Regions from separate parts of the Homo sapiens genome. Here all the other regions are linked to region 1. Evidence: promoter capture Hi-C in 16 types of primary human blood cells and fetal thymus (Javierre and others, 2016). All regions are on one chromosome and are shown on one strand. The core of a region is centred on a gene start or on the middle of the fragment in contact, and the rest is flanking DNA. Distances in the headings are between cores, read along the strand shown. Region 1 holds the start of SGK2 (serum/glucocorticoid regulated kinase 2). Region 2 has its middle 87 kb from the start of JPH2. Region 3 overlaps JPH2 (junctophilin 2). Region 4 overlaps JPH2 (junctophilin 2). Region 5 overlaps JPH2 (junctophilin 2). Region 6 overlaps OSER1 (oxidative stress responsive serine rich 1). Region 7 has its middle 110 kb from the start of JPH2.

Region 1 (2,702 bases), core at 4-2,503:
GCAGGGCTCCTCCGGAGCACAGCAGAGCAGCCGGTGTTTAAGGCACCAGAATTACCAGAAAGTTGTTGACATTTTAATGGAAAGGCAATGGAGGAAGCAGTGTGAAAGTCAGCCTGCTCAGGAGGGGTCACTGGGCAGAGCTTTCCTTACCTGTCCAGGGGTCCAGGCCCTGCCTGTGCCCTGAGTTAGAACCCAGGGCCGGCCAGGCGCGGTGGCTCACGCCTGTAATCCCAGCACTTTGGGAGGCCGAGGCGGGCAGATCACAAGGTCAGGAGATCGATACCGTCCTGGCTAATGCAGTGAAACCCCATCTCTACTAAAAATACAAAAATTAGCTGGGCGTGGTGGTGGGCGCCTGTAGTCCCAGCTACTCGGGAGGTTGAGGCCGGAGAATGGCGTGAACCTGGGAGGCGGAGCTTGCAGTGAGCTGAGATCACGCCACTGCACTCCAGCCTGGGTGACAGAGCGAGACTCTGTCTCAAAGAAAAAAAAAAAAGAACCCAGGGCCTGGGAAGCTTTGGGTCAACCCCCGAGAAAGCCTTCCCTGTTCTCCAGGGTGAACTCATCTCTGGTTCCTGAGCCTCAAATCTCTGAAGGGCAGAGTGGGGCATAGGTTTCAACTCAGCTGTGATTCTCCCAGAACGGTGCCAGGGCAGTGCTTGGTCGGGTAGGCTGTGGGTGGCAGTCTTCGGCTTAACACAAGAAATTGCCAGAGGCTGGCTCAGGGGGAAATGAGCTGCCCAGTCCTGGAAGTTTCCATGAAATGACTGAACATAGGGGCTGGTGGCCCCCATTAGGGAAGGGGTGGAGGAGGGTGTTGTGTGAGACCAACCTTTCAGTTGCTGGTTCACTAGGTTCCAAGCGAAAGGGAAGATGACTCAGCGGAGGGAATCAGGGAAGGCTGTGTAGGAGTCAGCACTTAAGCTGGACCTTGAGAGAGTGCGGCAGTTCCAGTGTTGAAAGGGACTTCAGAAACCGTCCCTCCAGCAGGACACACCATCCGTCACCAATTCACATGAGGCTCAGGGAGCTGAAGTCAGTTGCCCATGGTCACATAACAAGTTGTGCTTTAAAAAATTCAGAGAGTCCCCCAGGCAGGGCCCATCCAGGAGCCAGTGTGTGCAGCCAGCTTGGTAATTCAGGTCCAGTGGTTAATTAGTAACTGGAAGGCCCCGAAGCCAGCTTCCAGCAGGCAGGGCTGGGAGGTTGAACTTGAGCCGGTTTGGGAGCCAGGAGCGAGTGGGTGACAGGTCATTCCTGACTGGGAAGGTTGCTTGACAAGTCAGGATTGTGCCTCCAGTCAGAAGGACCATGAAGAGAGAGAAGAGGGCAGAGCCGTGCATGGGGCTGCTCCCCAGGACCTGAGCAGGAACCTGGAGTTTTCAGGTGAGAGGCTCACCTGTGAGCAGGATACCTGCCTGCTCGCCTATTGGTCTCCAGATTGACTAGTTACCTAGCTAACATCTTTCCTAGTACCTGTTTACTTTCTTTCCTTCCTTTCTTCCTTGGCGACTTCTTTCCCTTCTCCCTCCTTCCTTTCCTTCCTTCCCTCCCAACTATCTGCTTTCTCAGCTGCCTAATTTTCTTCCTCCTTAACTAACCAACTTACATCCTCACTTCCTTCCCACTGACTTCATTTTTTCCTTTTCTAGCTTTCTATTGTCTTCCTGAAATTCCAGGCCGTGGGCTTTGCAGTCAGATGGCCTGGGTTCAAATCCTGGTTATGTCATTTATTAACTGTCTTGATCATGTCACTTCCCTGTCCTTGCCTCAGTTTTCTCCTCCTTGAAACAGGGACGATGATAGTTCCTAACCCGTGGGGTTGTGGGAACAAAATAAGATCAAGTTGGCACTTGAACTGGGCAGGCGTGTAAATGAACAAGTTACAGTGAAGACAGGGACAGCAGCAGGAGAGGGTGCATGGGATCGGAGGGTCATCTGGCTTCCAGGAAAGGCAATGAGAACAGGTGAAAAGGTGAGCTGGAAAGACCAGGTTTGTTGGGGAATGTTCCAAGGAGAGAGAACTGTGTGACACTGTCCCACCCCCACACCCCATTTGGCAGGGCCAGGGAGCTGTAAGCAGGTCCATGTAACAGTGGGACAGAGGGAGGCAAGTCTGGGCTGTGGCAAGTTAGGAAAGGGACAGGCTTGAGGACTCATGGAGGGGCTTGAGTGGGAGTTTGCGGAGTCTGAAGAGTTAGGAGAATATATTGATGTCCAGCTTCTGGCCAGAAAATTAGAACACCGTGGTGCGAGAGAGAAGAAAGCCTTAGGAACTGAGGGCTGCTTAGGCATGGGGGTCACAGTCAAGGTGATGGGGGAGGGTGTGATGGGCCATGGGCATGCCAGGTTCCCACCAGGAACTCAGTACTTGAATATTAACTCAACAGCAATATCTTGAGAAGCTTTACACAATAGTACAAAGATAAAAGTTAAAATAACCGGCCGGGTACAGTGGCTCACACCCGTAATCCTAACACTTTGGGAGGCCGAGGCAGGCGGATCACCTGAGGTCAGGAGTTTGAGACCAGCCTAGCCAACATGGTGGAACCTCGTCTCGACTAAAAATACAAAAATTAGCCGAGCGTCGTGACACATGCCCGTAATCCCAGCTATTTGGGAGGCTGAGACAGGAGAATTGCTTGAACCCAGGAGGCGGAGGTTGCAGTGAGCAGAGATTGCGCCACTGCACTCCAGCCTGG
Region 2 (2,970 bases), core at 166-2,665, 540 kb after region 1:
CAATATGAAGGTTGAAAATACATCATTAAATGAGCATAGCTGTGGGCCAATAGAACTTTATTCATAACACTGAAATGTGAATTTTACATGATTTTTCACATCATGAACTAGTCTTCCTTTGTTTCCCACCCTAACCATTTAAAACAGTAAAAACCAGCTGGGCATGGTGGCTCATGCCTTTAACCCCAGTACTTTGGGAGGCCAAGGTGGGCGGATCACTTGAGGCCAGGAGTTCGAGACCAGCCTGGCCAACATGGTGAAACCCTGTCTTTACTAAAAATACAAAAATTATCTGGGCATGATGACTCATGCCTGTGATCCCAGCTACTCAGGAGGCTGGGGCAGGAGAAGTGCTTGAACCCGGGAGCTGGAGGTTGCAGTGAGCCAAGATCCCACCACTGCACTCCAGCCTGGGTGACAGAGTGATACTCTGTTTCAAAAATACATACATACATACATACATACATACATACATACATACATACATATGTAAAAACTGTTCTTAGCTCAAAGACCAAAAAAAAAAACAAATCAGACATCGGGCCAGATTTTGCCCACCAGCCATGTTTTGCCAGCCTCTGATATTCACAAAGGGCTGTCTTCTGTCTGCTGAGTGTGGCGTTATTTGGCTCAATACCATGGACCTGAAGCAGGCAGGACTCAAATCTCTGCAGCTGGGAGAGTTTTTAAATGCAGCTACAAAGTTTTCCTGAATATTAGATATATTTGCAAGTTGCCAGCTTGTTAGATAAGCACTCACAGGGCGTTCTGCTCGCTGCTAGTTTGCCCTGATCAACACTTTTATGTCGTGACCTATAAGAAAGCTCAGAGAACCTAGTGGCCAGGAATAGCAAAGGAAAATAGTTACGAGAGGAGGTAATTACCCTCTCTACCACCAAGAGATAGAGGATGGAGGGTGGAGGTTAAAAGGGTGGGCCCTGGAGTCACGGTAAATTACTCGGGGTAAATCATGTAAATTTTCTGGCCACCAGTTTCCTCATCTGCATAATAGGGATGATGATAGTGTCTGTCTAATTATATCGTTGATAGGATTACATGTTATCATGCATTTAAAAGACTTAGTGTCTGCTTGTTAGTTTTTAAGTGGTTGGTTTTCACTACCTCCACTATTAACTACCCTGGCATAAAAAAGCAAAAGGAAAAAGAAAGGCAATTTGTACAATTAACTCCTAAAGAAGGTGAAAGAGTTAGTGGAAGAGATGAGAAAACTTTAATAACAAATAAATAAGAACTTTCAAGAAAATGCAATTTGGGTTTGATGACTTTCTGGAAGTAAAATGTTTGAAAAATTAAAAGAAATATCCAATAGTTGGACTGGAATAAATGGGAATCATGGTATAGTAAGTGATAGGACATCTCCTCATAGGGATGAAAGAACAGGTAGACCAGGGGAAGGGAGGACATTTAGGAGGCAGGTGCAAAACACCCCACGAGAATCCAGGCTGCAGGGAAATACAGAATTAGAAGAGTTGGACAATTAATCCTATTTGAGAGGATAAGTTCAATGAGCTGAAGACTGATTTTTTTTTTTTTTTTTTTGAGACAGGGTCTTGCTCTGTTACCCAGGCTGGAGTGCAGTGGTGCAATCTCGGTTCACTGCAACCTCTGCCTCCAGGTTCAAGCACTTCTGCCTCAGATTTCCAAGTAGCTGGGTTTACAGGTGCACCACCTGTAATATGCCACCGCACCTGGCTAATTTTCACATTTTTAGTAGAGATAGGGTTTCACAATGTTGGTCAGGCTGGTCTCGAACTCCTGACCTCAAGTGATCTGCCCACCTCCCAAAGTGCTGGGATTAGAGGCACGAGCCACTGCACCTGGCCGGAAGTCTCAAATTTTGACACCGAAAGAGCACGTTGTTTCCAGGACTGGATTAATTCCTAAAGAACTCACCTTAGACACATGCTCTGTTTAAATTCTGAAGACTGAATCTTAGGAGAAAATCTGACAAGACTTCAGAGGGAAAGAAAAGAAGAGTTTACTCACAAAACTAAAAGAATAAGTAATGGGGAAAGGACTCCCTATTGAATAAATGGTGCTGGAATAACTGACTAATCGTATGCAAAAGATTGAAACTGGACCCCTTTCTTACACTGTATACAAAAATCAACTCAAGATGGATTAAAGACTTAAATGTAAAACCTAAAACTATAAAAACCCAGGAAGATAACCTGGGAAATATCATTCTGTACATAGCTTCTCGCAAAGATTTCATGTTGAAGACTCCAAAAACAATTGCAACAAAAACAGAAATTGACAAATGGGACCTAATCAAACTAAAGAGCTCTGTACAGCAAAAAGATATTGTCAACAGAGTAAATGGAAAACCTACAGAATGGGAGAAAATATCTGCAAACTATACCTCCAACAAAAGTCTAATATCCAGAAACTATACGGAACTTAAACAAATTAACAAGCAAAAAACAACCCCGTTAAAAAGTGGGCAAAAGATATGAACATTTTTCAAAAGAAGACATACACATGGCCAGCAAGCATATGAAAAAATGCTCACCATTACTAATCACTAGAGAAATGTAAATCAAAACCACAATGAGATACCATTTCACACCAATCAGAATGGTTATTATTAAAAAGTCAAAAAATAACAGATGCTGGAGAGGTTGCAGAGAAAAGAGAATACTTATACACTGCTGGTGGGAATGTAAATTAGTTCAGCCATTGTGGAAAGCAGTTTGGCGACTTGTCAAAGAACTTAAAACAGAAGTACTATTCAACCCAGCAATCCTATTATTGGATACATACCCAAAGGCATATATATAAATCATTCTACCATAAAGACACATGCACATATATGTTCATTGCAGCACTATCCACAATAGCAAAGACATGGAATCAACTTAAATGCCCATCAGTGGTAGACTGGATAAAGAAAATGTGATACCTATATGCCATGGAATACTACACAGCCAAAAAAAAGAACAAGATTAT
Region 3 (2,700 bases), core at 64-2,563, 580 kb after region 1:
ATTCTCCTGCCTTGGCCCCCTCAAAGTGCTGGGATTACAGGCATGAGCCACTGCACCTGGCCAAGATTTTAATAAGCAACTGAGGGATGGGGTTTAATGATATTTTGCTTCACTGTATTCTTTTTCTTCTTCTTTTTCTTTTTTTTGGCTAACTTTTTCTAATCTAATACTAGATTTGTATTTATGGTAATGATCTAAAGTTTCTTTATAAGAATAAATTTAGATTTAAGAAAGTTAAAATGTTTTTTAAATAGTAAGGGGATCCAGACAGCATGTGGACACGGCGCGGCTCAGGAAGGTATGGCAGTGACTGGCATTTGGCAATCGCTGCCTTGCCCCAGCTGCCACACCGCTGTGCCTTTGCCTCGCCTCGTCCTCCTGTTTGCTCTTCCATGCTGACCTCACTGGGCTGCCCTGGACTCCCTCTGAGCTAAAGTCATCTCCCAAAGGATCCACAGTAACAATAGCTGCCCATGACTGGGACGTGGGAAAGGCCAAGCAAGGAAGTGAATCTGGGCCGGCTTTTTTCCCCCCAAGGACAAGGCAAGGAGAGCTCAGTGCTCCAGGAAATGGAGAACCACAGAGGGGCAGGGACTTGCCCGGGGTCATTCAGCAAGTCAGTGGCAGAGGCCTTCCCACCCTAAAACAATGTGGACGGGAAGATAAAATGGGACAGCCACCACAGAGAGCCTTTGATCCAGCAACTGCGAGTTGGGGGAATTTATTCTAGAGATATACCAACCCATGGGTGGAAATATTGATCTAACACAGCAAATATCTGGAAACTACCCAAACATCCATGTACAACAATGGGGACCTGATTCAGTAAATTGTGGCACAGCTATATAATGGAATTCTACACAAGCATTTAGAAACTGATCAAGTTCTGTACTTGGAAAAACATGAATAGATCTCCAATATATACACAGCAAAGAAAAAAAAGCAAGATTCCAAACAGTATGTATATGCTACAGTATAATATGCTACTTTTTGTGTAAGAAAGAGAAGAACAGGAATCTATACATTTGTTTATATTAGGTTGAACAGTATGAAATTGCCATTTTATAGGCCAAACCTGGTCAAATATTAGCAATTTCATATTTTCCATCTTAATAGAAAGTAACTGGAAGGAAAGGAAAGAAACTACAAACAAGAGTTGCCTATGGAGGTGGCAACAAGATGGGGACAGGAAAAGGAGATGGACTCTTTATAGTAATACTTTTCTAACTGTTGGGTTTTGAACCAAATGAATGTATGATTTTTTTTTTAATACAGAGTCTCACTCTGTCACCCAGGCTGGAGTGCAGTGGTGCAATCTTGGCTCACTGCAACCTCTGCCTCCTGGGTTCAAGTGATTCTCCTGCCTCAGCCTCCCGAGTAGCTGGGACTACAGGCGCGTGCCACCTTGCCCAGCTAATTTTCTGTATTTTTAGTAGAGATGGGGTTTCACCGTGTTAGGCAGGCTGGTCTCAATCTCCTGACCTCGTGATCTGCCCGCCTCGGCCTCCCAAAGTGCTAGGATTACAGGCATGAGCCACTGCGCCTGGCCGAGATTTTATTTTTTTTTAATAAAGGAAAACACCAGTAGGGCCTCTTAGGGCAGGCTTTCTGCAACATGACACCTGTCTTTATATCCATCCCAGCTGGGTGGTCAGGGAGAAACTGTGCAGGCCTGAGCCCAGGGGGCACCCCAGTTTAGCTTCTGACAAATCCCTTCTAGAGAACCTGCTCTGTGGCATTTCCCACCCTCCACGTGGTGGGTCAGAGCTCCAGGGGCCTCCACCCCTTGGGCCAGGCTTCTGGCAAAGCTACAGCAGGTCCTATGGGATGATGGTTTTGGCACCAGGCTGCCATGACTTTGTAGGAGCACCCCCTTGCCAGACAGGGCCACACGAAGCCAGGGCTGATGGGAAAAGCACTTCAGCAGCAATGCAATAGGTCCCCACAAGGATACGGCTTGGCCAAAGGTAGCTCTGAAAACGCATTCCCACCGCTGCCCCTCCCTCCTATCTGGTCCTATGGCACATGTCCTCTAGCAGCCTAAGGAAAGAGGTTCTCCCTGGGGTGATCGCTGGGATTATGGAAACACCTGGGAGATCCCCACCGAGATCTCACCCTTCAATAACACCAAGAAGAATCACTGAAGCAAGGGTAATCGTAGAATAATTTTTTTAAGCTGCCACTATTGAATGACTGTGGTGTACAGTATTTACACAGGTTATATCTCATTTTACCCTCAGTGGTAAGTACTATATCAATTTCTACCACCTCCCACCGTTGGAGAAACTGAGGCTCAGGAAAGTGACATGCCCAAGGAACGAGTGTTATCTAACCCCAAAGCCTGTGCTCTTGACCGTGAATGATGTTTGTGCCTCTGTCTCTCCATCTGAAAGATGGAGAAGGAGGAGACATGAAAACAGAGGTGCAGTGAAGGGGCTAGAGATGTGGTGACCAGGGAAGACTCGGGATATTAAGGTCACAGTCTTCAAACCTCTGCAAGGATGTTGAGACAGACATTGCTAGCTGCTCACCAAATATCCATTCTCTCCCTCTTTCCCACTAACGGAAGCCTAATTTGTTCAGGGAAGCAACGCATCCGGCTAAAAATATTCACCTTCCCATTCTCTACATCTGGGGAAGGTCTTCACTTCTGCATGGAGAGAAGCTGTTGCATTTGGACCTCCGCTGCCTGGAATGCAG
Region 4 (2,890 bases), core at 323-2,822, 560 kb after region 1:
CCCACTTCAGGCTCTACTTCTAGGGAATCTAACCTACACCGTCCAAGTTCATGGACCCCTGAAATCTATCCACAGACCCTCCTGTGGACTCCAAGTTAAGAAATGTGAGCCCATAAATGATTGCATGGAGCAAAGCCCCTTCCCACAGCCCCACAGTTGCACGTGACAGGAGCAAATTTTAAATATTCATTGTCTTAAGTACCTGAGATTTGGGAGATGTCTGTTTCAGCTGTCAGCTTAGCTTAACTCACAGAAGTACCTACTAAAGTAATAACAGTCCAATTTCCTAATGGGCCAGGCATGGTTCTAAAGGAGTTATGAAGATTATCTCATATGCTCATTCTAATGCCTTAGGAAGCTGGTGCTGTTATTATTATCCCTATTTTACAGAAAAGAAAATTGAAGTGCAAACAGGTTAAGCAATTTGCCCAAGGTCACAGAGTCCTGAAGTGCAGGAACTGGGATTTTGAACCCAGGCAACGTAACTCTAGGGCAGTGGTGTCCAATCTTTTGGCTTCCATGGGCCAGAAGAAGAAGAATTGTCATGGACCACACAGAAAATACACTAACACTAACGATAGCTGATAAGCTTAAAAAAAACAAATCACAAAAAAAATCCCATAACATTTTAATAGAGTTTACGAATTCGTGTTGGGCCACATTCAAAGCTGTCCTGGGCTGCATGGGGCCCATGGGCAAGGGTTAGACAAGCTTGCTCTATACCAGTAGCTGAGCATGTGCCAGAGCCTGTGCCAGGAGCTGAGCATGGCCAGGAACTGAGGACAGAGACTCTGTGGACCAGAAAGGCTACTGTCAGATGAGGGAGCTGGCTAGTAAACAGACACAAAAACTATTTAATAAAATGCAATTAAATAAAAAGTACCTAATTATAATTGTGAAATATGCCGTGAAGGAGGAGTAGAGAATACAATGAAAATGCAGGACAGAAAGACTTAATGTTGATGGGTGGTGGAGGTGGGCTGGTCAGGAAAGGATTCCTTGAGGAAGTTGACATTTGAGTTGAGACTTGAAGAAACACATACGTTAGGCCCCTAAGAGGTGGGCGGGTCAATGAGCCAGGTAGACAGAAGGGCATGTGCAAAGACTCTGAGACTGAGGAAGAGCTTTGTGCCTTCGAGGAGCTGCAAAGCCAAGTCAGAGTGTCCACTCTCTACAGATGAGTTAATTCCCTGGGGAGCTGATGTGTGTGTGTCTTTATCTCAGTCTACAGCAGAGAACTGGGCGCACGGTAAGGGGGATAAATTCCCTTAAGCTTCTACTAGGCACCAGGGCTTTTATCCCTTACAAACCTCAAAACTGTGAGGTAGTGAGGTAGTGTTTACCGGTCCCTACTTCACAGGTGGGGAAACTGAGGTTCAGAAAGGTGTCTTGCTCAAGGAAACAAAATAGGAGTTAACATTTACAAAGCACTTAGTATATGCCAAGGGCTTTACAGAAATTAACTTAACCCCCCAATAACTCTACAGGGTAGATGTTATTCCTATCATCCCTCTCTACAGAGGAGACATCCAAGGCAAAGGAGTATTCTAAAGAACCCAAGCCAGCATGGTGGCTCGTGCTTGTAATCCCAGCACTTTGGGAGGCTGAGGCAGGAAGATCACTTGAGCTCAGGAGTTCAAGACCAGCCTAAGCAACATACCAAGACCTTGTCTCTACTAACAATTAAAAAAAAAAAATTAGCCAGGTGTGGTGGCGCACACCTGTAGTCCCAGCTACTCAGGAGGCTGAGGTCAGCGGGGGGATTGCTTGAGCCCAGGAGATCGAGGCTGCAGTGAGCTATTATCACACCATTGCACTCCAGCCTGGGCAACTGAGCAAGACTGCATCTCAGAAAGAAAAAAAGAATTCACCCAAGCTTACATAGCTAGTAAGTACCAGAGTAAGGATTCAAACCAAAGCATTCTGGGATCTAGAGTCTGTATCCTAACCACAGGCTCAATTTCCATTCAATAACAAGCAGCAGAGTAAGATTCTAAACCTGGAGCTGTCTGATGTCCAAGCCCCTGCCTCTCCACTATGCCATATTGCCATAGTAATGCTTACTGAATGAATACATGGCTGAAGGCACGCATGCAGGCGTGCACATATGTAGGGGCAAGGAGACAGCCTAGGGAAGAGTTAAGAGCACACAGTTTTAGAATTAACAGGCCTGGATTCCAATTTGGGCTCTGCCAAGGCCAGGGACAGAATGAGATGACCGAGGCACTCGCCTCAGGGGCAAAATTTATGGGGTTGCCAAAAAACTCAGTGATCAAGAGGAATCACATTTTAATGCAATATTTTAAAAGTCTAAATTAATGCAAAAATAAATCCTTGATGAACAACCTATGAAGAAAATTTTAAATAAAGCCTGGATTGGACCCTGCACTTGGATCCCTCACTTACTCACTCACCTCACCCCACTGGGAGTCTAGGACCTTGGGTGCATGCATGGCTTTACCTCTCTGTGCCTCAGTTTCTTCATCTGTAAAGTGGAGATAGTAATTCTCCCCTCCTGAAGTTGCCGTGAAAACTAAGTGAGAGGCAACGCGTGAAAGTGTTTGGTCTTGATGATGACGATGATGGGGTGTTGGTGGCGGTGGTGAAAGAGGAGGAGGAGAATGACATCTGTACATCAAAACTGAGTGTGCTACATGCATATCCCCAGGCTTATTTTTGCCTGCACGTGAGTATGTGTGAGACAAAGTTCTAAACTTTTTAGAGCCACTTCTCTGGGCACATGAAACCCCAGGAGGGAGGAGGAGGGAAAGGGCTGGGCAAGCCTTCAAACTGAGAAAATGCCCTTTTTTTGGTCATGTGAGCAGAAAGATGCCCACTTTCTGGTGCCTTTGGAAGCTGGGTTGAGGACTCCTCAGGCAGGAAAGGCAGC
Region 5 (2,946 bases), core at 70-2,569, 610 kb after region 1:
TGATCCGCCTGCCTTGGCCTCCCAAAGTGCTGGGATTACAGGCATGAGCCACCACGCCTGGCCCTCAGGTATTCTTTTACAGCAACACAAAATTGACTAAGACACCAAGGAAAAGCTGGGAGATCCAGAATCCAGTTTGAGACATCAAAGAGACATATGGGCCAGACCAGGATTCTGCCTCCAAATACAGAATGGACACTGAGAACACCATCCCATCTGGCCAGTGACACCTTCCTATTTCCAGGGAACTATCTGAGGTTGGAAGATCAGTGTGCCTCGGTGCTACGGTTTAATGTTTGTCCCCCTAAAAAGCTCAAATTGAAACTTAATCCCCAATGTGGCAGTATTGAGAGGTGGGGCCTTTAAGAGGTGATTAATCCACTCATGGATTCATGGTTTAATTGGTTATGGGAGTGGGGCTGGTGGCTTTATAAGAAGAGGAAGAGAGATCTGAGCTAGCACACTCGGCCCTCTCATCACATGACACCCTGTGCCACCTTGGGACTCTGCAGAGAGTCTCCACCAGTAAGAATGCCACTCCTGATATGACCCCTTGACCTTGGACTGCCTAGCCTCCAGAACTCTAGGAAATACATTTTGTTTCTTATAAACTACACAGTTTCAGGTATTCTGTTATAAGTAACAGAAAGCAGACTAACACACTGGAGAACTGAACAGAGATGGAGAGAAGGAACGAGGACTAGCTCCTTTCTAGGAGTCCCCATTGCCTATAGAAGTCCTTACCTGATAGTCCAGTTCCTTCATGACCTGGTTCCAAGTCACTTTCTCAGCCTTGTCTTCCCAAATCCTTCATAGCCCAGTTTCAAACCACCTCCTTCAGGGAACCACCTTCCTTCCTCCAAATTCTCATTGCCCAAGACATTTATCACTTCTTACTTCCCATGGCAGCTCTCTTGTCTTTATCTTGCCTGTTTTGTCTACCAGCCATCGCTGATCCTTCTCCAAGTCCTCTCACATAGTACCAGATGTTGGCATAAGATCTTTGGGTGGCCCATAGAAGTGTCATCAACAAATTTCAGACAGTGTTTAAGATGGAGCATGGCAGATACAGAGTGAGCATCAGAGAGTCCAGGGGTTAATGGCTCTTGTCCAAGCATACCAAGATCAGACCAGGTGAACCAGAAATGCTCACTGTGGTCAGCACACATGCCCATGCCACAGACACCACACAGATGCTCCTGATTATAAGGGACTCATAGCTTGGCTCTAACCCACCTTGATAAAGACTATGGACCCAGCATCCCAGAGAAAGTAAGCCAGGGCTAAGACAGCTTTGGAGGTAGCAAAGAATAATGGAAATCACATGGTCTTCAGATAGACCTGACTCTGAATATCTCTTTAATTTTGCTCAATATATTGTTAAAATGAATAGATAAGAAAGTATCCTAACAGATACAGGCATCATCATTTCGATGTTACAATTGGAAAAACTGAAACTAAGAATTTAAATGACTCTCATGATGACGCACTGCGATACTCCTTAATTCTCTTGGTCTCCACCCTATCTGTCTAGTCCAAGCCACATCCTTTTCTCCCTCGATGATGACAGTAGTATCCTCCCTGCCCCCCACTTCAGTTGACCCTTTGCTGCTGCCACTCATCTTCTTCATAAGATGCAACTCTCAGCAGGTTACTCCCCATCTCAAAACCCTGCAGTAACTTCCCAGTGCCTTGAGGAGTGTCTCAGGTCAGGATCCCTAGGGAAAAGATTCTGAAGCTGAGATGATGTGTGGGAGATTTAGCGGGGAGTGCTCTCAGGAAGAGCACGTGTAAGGAAGGAAGCAGGATTTGGCAGTGGAGGAAGCTGAACATCTGCAACAGAATATTCAACTGATCCCAGGGGGATTTAAGCTGGTATAGCCCTTCAGCGTTGCCCAAAATCAAAGCAAGGGGGCCAGGTCATTACAGTCATTAGATGTGAAGGAGGCAGCTCCCTTTGTTGGAGAGAAATACCCAGCCAGGATCTGTCAGCTGCTAACACTCCTGGCAGCTCGGGGAATGTGTCCCTGGTCCTAAGGAGTGTCTGAAGGGGTAGCCTAGAATCTACTAGAAGGATGAAGTTCAAGCTCCTCACTGTGACCCACAAAACCCTCATGATCTGGGCTTTGCCAATCTCTCCAGCCTCGTCCACCCCACTCTCTCTCTCTGAGTCTGTGCTCCAGCCTTTTCTGGAACACAGCATGCTCAGGTCCCACCTCCAAGCCTTTGCATTTGCTGTCCCTTCTGCCTGCCTGTGCGGCCTCCCCTGTCACCCAGTTTACCTCTATTCATCCTGCATATCTCAGCTCAAACATCACTTCCTCAAGGACGCCTTCTCTGATTATCAGACCAGACCAGGTTTCCCTGTTATCAGTTCATAAATTCTTCTATTTTTCCTTCAAAATATGTATCACATTTTGTATTTAAGTAATTGTTAGATGCCGGTCTCTGCTGTTAAGATACATGCACTTGGGGGCAGGGACAGGTCTGACTCGCCCACCACAGCATCCCCAGCACTCCATGCAGGGACTCACACATGGAAGACATTCAACAGATACTGTCAAATGCATTAATAAGCACAGGCTTTGAATAAGGTCTCTTTGAGTCTGTCTCCTCTCAGTAAAGTGAGCATAGCAAGTTTCCTTTGCAAGGTTGCTGTATTACATGGTTTATCTAGCAGAGATCTCGGGCTCTCAACAAAGGTTGGCTCCTTTCACTTCATGGGAAAAGACTGTAGGGTGACCAGTCATCCCAGTTTGCCTATGTCTGAGAGGTTTCCTGGGATGTGGAACTTTCAGTGCTAATACCGGGCAGTTTCAGGCAAATTGAGATGGCTGATCACCCTAAATTGGGGTGAGAAGGAAAAAGGGGCATTTCATATTAGTACAATAGTCAGGATATAGTAGCAAACCAGCTCTTTAGGACAAACCAACCAACCAACCTCAG
Region 6 (2,783 bases), core at 68-2,567, 640 kb after region 1:
AATCCACAAACCAAATCCATTTTCCTAGATGTATCAGAGAAAGGAGATTAGTTTGGTACATCACATTCACAAAAGAACGTCAAATATCCCAATGAGGGACCCTAATGTTAAAGTTGGGCCAATTAGGTCTGAGCAGAGTAATTTTTAACTTCAAGATTCATGTTTTGAGGAAGATTTTGCTGAGATGTAGATAACTTACAACTTATTCCCACAAATCTGGAATGCCTAAACTTTCATGCAAGTTGGATTTTGAGTTACTAGGTCATTGGAACTTTGTGCTTTTCAATACTTACACCCTCCTAACACCTTCATATGAAAAGAATACGTATCATCATTCTCTGGTGACTGCTGCACTAATATACAGCACTAAGTAAATAACCAGAGCGCTGGCTTGAAAAACAAACTAAAAGGGATTTAAAGGCTTAAGAACTCGCCTTAATTCAAAGAACATGTTAAGCCCATGTTAAGCCCACTTAACATGAACTTGAATAGCTCACTACTTAATTACAATAGCTCCACTCCTCTACAGCTTTTATTTTATTTTTGAGACGGAGTCTCGCTCTGTTGCCCAGGCTGGAGTGCAGTGGCGCAATCTTGGCTCACTGCAAGCTCCGCCTCCTGGGTTCACACCATTCTCCTGCCTCAGCCTCTGAGCAGCTGGGACTACAGGCGCCAGCCACCACGCCCGGCTAATTTTTTGTATTTTTAGTAGAGACGGGGTTTCACCGCGTTAGCCAGGATGGTCTCGATCTCCTGACCTTGTGTTCCGCCCGCCTCGGCCTCCCAAAGTGCTGGGATTAAAGGCGTGAGCCACCGTGCCCGGCCCAGTTTTAATTTTTTTAAAGGTGAGCCAAAACATTAGTTGTGGAGGTGAAAGCGGGGTGGTACCTTTACAACCAGAAGCTTAAATTTTGGTCCTGGAATCCCTGAGGCCCTTTTAGGAAATCTGAGGTCAAAATTATTTACATGGTACTAAAACATTACAGGTTGAGGGTCCCTAATCTGAAATGCTTCAAAATCCAGAACTTTTTGAGCACTGACATGAGGAGCAAAGGACATGCTCATTGGAGCAGTTTGGCTTTTAGGATTATGGAAGCTGAACTGATAAGCATGTAATGCAAATCTTTCAAAATCTAAAAAAAATCTGAGATCCGAAACACTTCTGGTCCCAAGCATTTCATATAAGGAATATTCAACCTGTAGTTGCCTTTTTCACATTCATTCTCCCAAGTGTACAAAAGTTTGCCAGAGACCACACAATATGCGATATCCCAGAGACTGAATGCAGAAACATATGAGAATCTGTCTTCTAATTAAGCCAAACATTAAAAAAGATTTGCAAAAAGGTAGAACAATGCCACTCTTCTATTTTTTGTTTTGGAAAAGCTATTTTTCATTCAAAAATTTTGTTAGCTTGTAATGAGTTTTTAAATATTTAAAAAAATCTTAGTTTTAATTTCTAACATGGTAAATATTTATATCCTTTTGGAGATTATAACAAAACCTTTTGGGTCCTGAATTTGTCAGTGTAAAGGAAGTGCTTACAAAAAGTTTGAGAATTTCTGCCTTAGATATACTAAATAGTGTACCTTCTGTCACCATTATCAGGAAATATCTGTCACAGCTTCTAGAACTGTGATAAGGTATTTTGCTCCCTTGCTTTAACCACAGCCTTCAGATGTCACTAAATCCACACCAAACCAATGACCAGCAGAGGACTCCCACTACTACTTAAGCTTAGGGTTTTTCTAGTAAACACCCTTCCCCTCTCCCCCAAGTACAAATCACCTATTTGTTGAAGCCCACATCCCATTATCATGAATCAACCACAGCCAGCGCAGTTTTAGTAAATAGTATAAATGTATTTTGTAATTTAAACAAAAGCTTCTGTTAACATTATTGCTAACATGGCTAGACACTGTCACTAAATTTGGTGGCTCTGCTCAGGATGGTCTGAACACATGCAACATTCTTTTTGGAGCCACCTGAAAAACAAGGATTCATCATCCAGCTGAAACCGAAGACAGATTTTTTTTTTACCAAACTGGAGGGAATTTTGAAATGGCTGACCAAATCTGTGGGATACAGAATGTACAAAATTCTCTTTTAGGGTTGCTGGGGTGACAGGGCAGCTCAAAGAGGTAACCATCTATAACATCTGAAACTGAGGTATGAGACCTGTATTACAACTGATAACAAAAAAAAAAAAAAAAAACCGCCATATATTTAAAATGCTGGAGATGGTGAAGACACACACTCGTTTCAAATATTACACCCCCTCCCTCCAACTGAAGCAGCCCATTCCAAGCTGCTTACTTGAAACTGCATGTAACATGTCTTAGGATGAATAGCACCAGCAGGGGCTTATTTAGTGATGGTTAATAACTCTCTCAAACAATAGAGGGCAGGCCAGCTAGTTTATTCAAATTGAATCTAAACCTTAGATCTCTGGCTTAACAATAACAAGAGAAACCTTTATAGACACAATATATCTTGCATTAAATCAGAGACGGTTTAAATCAGTCTTGTAACTTCTAATATTCTGGGCTGGCAACTACAGCATGACAAATGTTTAGTGCAGTTACAAAATCACATTTTACTTTCCTTGGCTAGCAAACCTTAAACAAATCTGAAAAATGCACTGTTTTACAAAGGCTTTTACCATATACCCACTGCTGCCAGTCTCAAGTAATTATGGTTTCTTCATCCCCCAGGAACATTTCTAAATAAGGGGGATTTTTCTTTGATCTGCTCGCCTTGAAGTGTATGTAAGAACTCAAGAG
Region 7 (2,857 bases), core at 12-2,511, 520 kb after region 1:
TCAGCCTGGGCTGCCATAACAACAGAAATGGTTTAAACAACAGAAATTAATTTTCTCACTGTTCTGGAGACTGGGAGTCAAAGGTCAAGGTGCTAGCAGGCTTTGTTTCTTCTGAGGCCTCTCTAGATGACCACCTTCTGTGTCCTCACATGGCCATCCCTCTGCGCCTGTCCACCTCTGGGGTCTCTCTGCATGTCTGAGTCTCGTCTTCTTTGAGAACACCTGGTAGGTTGAATTAGGGCCCATCCTAATGGCCTCATTTTTAACGTAATCACCTCTTTAAAGGCCCCGTCTCCAAATACAGTCATATTCTGAGGCACCGGGGGTTCGAACTTCAACATGTGAGTTTGGGGGAACACAGTTCAGTCCCTGTAGATGGGGTGCTCAATAATGATTAGAAACCCCACGGTGCTGGTTAAATCTAACCACTGGTTCATGGGCCAGGTGAAAGGAAACAGACGCAAATCAGGAAGGATTCTGTGTGAGTGCACAGTAGCCAGGTCACTCTTCTGGGAGGGTATTGCAAAGTCGAAACGCGGCATGCTCCACCTCCAGCTCACCACCGTCCAGCCCAGGAAATCCACAGGTCTTTGCAGGTGCCATGCACGCTATGCTGACACAGCACAAGGGACACTTACTGATAGGTCCTGGGAGGACACTGAAGGACAGGACTGCCTCCCGCATCTCCACAGTGACTCTTGGCCACACCATTTGTTACATTTCCTGGGTGCCTTCCTAAACCTCCAAGCTGCCCTGGAATCCCTTGACTCCCATCTACAATATATTATTAGTATAAAGGGAGTCGACGAACTCACAACCACAAGCTGCAAATTCCAGTGACGTCAGGGTCAGGCAGATAACATAAGCAAAGGAAGGAGACAGAGGGACGGACATATGAGAGAGAGTGATGAGGACTGGGGCTAAGTGGAGAGGGACTGCCCTGCCAAAAAGCATTTAAATTCAATGCGTGTTGGAACACCATCCCAGCCAAAAAACAAAACAAAACAAAAAAAAACCAACCAAACACAAACCAACCAACAAAACCAAGTTTGCTGACCAAATGCAGCCTCCAAGCATCTAGTTGGTGATCTCCACTGAGGATATATGGTTAAGAGGACAGGCTTTGAAGACACAGACCTGATTTTGAATTTCACTGTTTCTGTGAAACAGTCTGGTCCAAATGTTAGAGATGTGTGAGAAATATATGAAATAAAGCATGTAGTGCTTAGTGCAGTCCTGACACATAGCAAGTGCTAAGTTAATAGTAGCTATTAATATTACTGTGGTAAATAAGAAAGTAGTGACGTGATTCTAAGCCTTCACTTCTCAGGAACAGTGCGGAGAGTACTCACGTGTGGAGTGGTGGTGCCTCCTGGTGGTCATAATTAGGAACTGCAGAGCAGTGTAGCAGGCCTAACAGAATGATTAGGAGCCAAGAGGGCTAATTTACGGTCAGACAATGGGTTTGACTCCAGTTCTGCCATCTGCGAGTAGGTGACACAGGTCATTCACCTCCATGCTTAGCCTCCATATTCAACTGCCCTACACCTACAACCCCACGGAGTGGCTCTGACAACTTAACAAGACAATATGATATCACTTTTAAGGGCTTTACTGCATACTAAGTGCTACGATCCTAGGATGATCCTGGCATGATGTCAGAACTCAGAACACCGCAGCACCACACTGCCAACATCCTTCTCTCTTGTGAGAAGGTGAAACAGGTGGGTCCCCAGTTGTTACTTATTTTTTCTTTTATTGGGTGGCAATGAGAAGGGGTTACTCTGGACCGGAGCCCCTGACCAGAAAAATAGATCTGCTGTATCACCTGAAATTCACTGGAGCAAAATATTCCTTTGAGTTATGCATTGCTCTATCCAGACTTCTCTTTTAAACCGGAAGTTCCCCCAGAAGGGTGACTGTATTAGTTCCAAATACCCACATGAGCATGAGTTTATCAGCTGCTCCCCTCCCTGACAGGAGGAGGGGACTGGGGGACACTTTGTGCTGTCATTACCTCCGTTTGGGACCCCTGCCCCAGTCACAGCCTTCTGCCCACTTGCCATTGCTGGCCTACAGAGCTGGCTTCCTGCCTGCCTGTGATGGGAGACCCTGCCTTCAAGCTGGCTGAGTTGTCCCCAGGAGGTAGAGAACCAGAGGCCAGGCCTGACCTCAGACTGCAGGGTCCCCTCTCCCACGGCCCTCTGGGGAAGCTCCCCGCACCCAGGCCTCCTCAGCCCTGCCCCTCCTCCCCAGGTCCTGAGCTCTTCTTCCAGCAAACAGCGGCAGCATCTGCCTGGAAACACAGGAAAGGTGCCTCCACTTGTATCCTTTCCTGCCGCCAGATGGAGAAATAAAAACAGGAATAACAGATCCCACTGCCAGAGCACGTGTGCTGGGGCCTCTGCTGGGCACTGCAGACCCATTGGCTCATTTCATCATCTCGCCAACCCCATGTGATAGATGCAATGATTGTTCACATTTCACAGATGAGAAAACTGAGGCTCAGAAGGGTGAGTGAGTTGCCGAAGGTCACAGAGCTTGACAGCGGGGGAGCCTGGGTGGGAACCAGGCAGACCAATGCCTGACCCTTCACCATGGTGCAATGTTTACCCAATGGGAAGCCATCCCTTCCACCTCCAAATCCAAGAGGCTGCTGCTGACCAAGATCCAGCCCATTACCCTACTGTCAGATTGATCACATGAGCATGAATTATCAAACTGACACTCTGACCCACCCTGACAAATGTCACTGGCCAAATGTGTGACTGGTCATAACTGACAGATGGACAGACATTTGGCTTGGGAAAGCTAGGACCTGGCTAATGTTTGCTTTTAAAAGATCTTAATTTTTTTT

What was found. Contacts are between HindIII fragments. The CHiCAGO score rates a contact against its expected background, and 5 or more counts as called.
Region 2: a fragment that was not itself captured here is called in contact with the fragment with the promoter of SGK2 in region 1 in 14 of 17 cell types (M1 macrophages, endothelial precursors, activated CD4 T cells and 11 more); the score reaches 9.8 in M1 macrophages.
Region 3: a contact is called between a fragment that was not itself captured here and the fragment with the promoter of SGK2 in region 1, in 1 of 17 cell types (naive CD8 T cells). The highest score is 5.5, in naive CD8 T cells.
Region 4: a fragment that was not itself captured here is called in contact with the fragment with the promoter of SGK2 in region 1 in 1 of 17 cell types (M0 macrophages); the score reaches 5.1 in M0 macrophages.
Region 5: a contact is called between a fragment that was not itself captured here and the fragment with the promoter of SGK2 in region 1, in 3 of 17 cell types (naive CD8 T cells, total CD8 T cells and fetal thymus). The highest score is 6.0, in naive CD8 T cells.
Region 6: a fragment that was not itself captured here is called in contact with the fragment with the promoter of SGK2 in region 1 in 3 of 17 cell types (monocytes, endothelial precursors and total CD8 T cells); the score reaches 6.7 in monocytes.
Region 7: a contact is called between a fragment that was not itself captured here and the fragment with the promoter of SGK2 in region 1, in 4 of 17 cell types (M1 macrophages, endothelial precursors, M0 macrophages and 1 more). The highest score is 9.5, in M1 macrophages.

What each region holds. Positions count from the first base shown.
Region 1 is chr20:43,557,774-43,560,475 of GRCh38, forward strand. It overlaps SGK2 (serum/glucocorticoid regulated kinase 2), which reads left to right and starts at 1,254. Exons shown (of 13, transcript NM_170693.3): 1 at 1,254-1,386. The HindIII fragment of the contact is 1,890 bases long and covers 514-2,403 here.
Region 2 is chr20:44,099,137-44,102,106 of GRCh38, forward strand. No RefSeq gene overlaps it. Among named protein-coding and RNA genes, the nearest start is that of JPH2, 87 kb to the right of the region's middle. The HindIII fragment of the contact is 3,805 bases long and covers 1-2,970 here.
Region 3 is chr20:44,138,622-44,141,321 of GRCh38, forward strand. The region is part of intron 2 of JPH2 (junctophilin 2); the gene reads right to left. Among named protein-coding and RNA genes, the nearest start is that of JPH2, 47 kb to the right of the region's middle. The HindIII fragment of the contact is 8,658 bases long and covers 1-2,700 here.
Region 4 is chr20:44,120,147-44,123,036 of GRCh38, forward strand. All of the region lies in intron 2 of JPH2 (junctophilin 2), which reads right to left. Among named protein-coding and RNA genes, the nearest start is that of JPH2, 66 kb to the right of the region's middle. The HindIII fragment of the contact is 603 bases long and covers 1,272-1,874 here.
Region 5 is chr20:44,169,415-44,172,360 of GRCh38, forward strand. The region is part of intron 1 of JPH2 (junctophilin 2); the gene reads right to left. Among named protein-coding and RNA genes, the nearest start is that of JPH2, 16 kb to the right of the region's middle. The HindIII fragment of the contact is 6,904 bases long and covers 1-2,946 here.
Region 6 is chr20:44,194,098-44,196,880 of GRCh38, forward strand. OSER1 (oxidative stress responsive serine rich 1) reads right to left here. Exons shown (of 4, transcript NM_016470.8): 4 at 1,842-2,783. Among named protein-coding and RNA genes, the nearest start is that of JPH2, 8.3 kb to the left of the region's middle. The HindIII fragment of the contact is 833 bases long and covers 902-1,734 here.
Region 7 is chr20:44,079,560-44,082,416 of GRCh38, forward strand. No RefSeq gene overlaps it. Among named protein-coding and RNA genes, the nearest start is that of JPH2, 110 kb to the right of the region's middle. The HindIII fragment of the contact is 6,228 bases long and covers 1-2,857 here.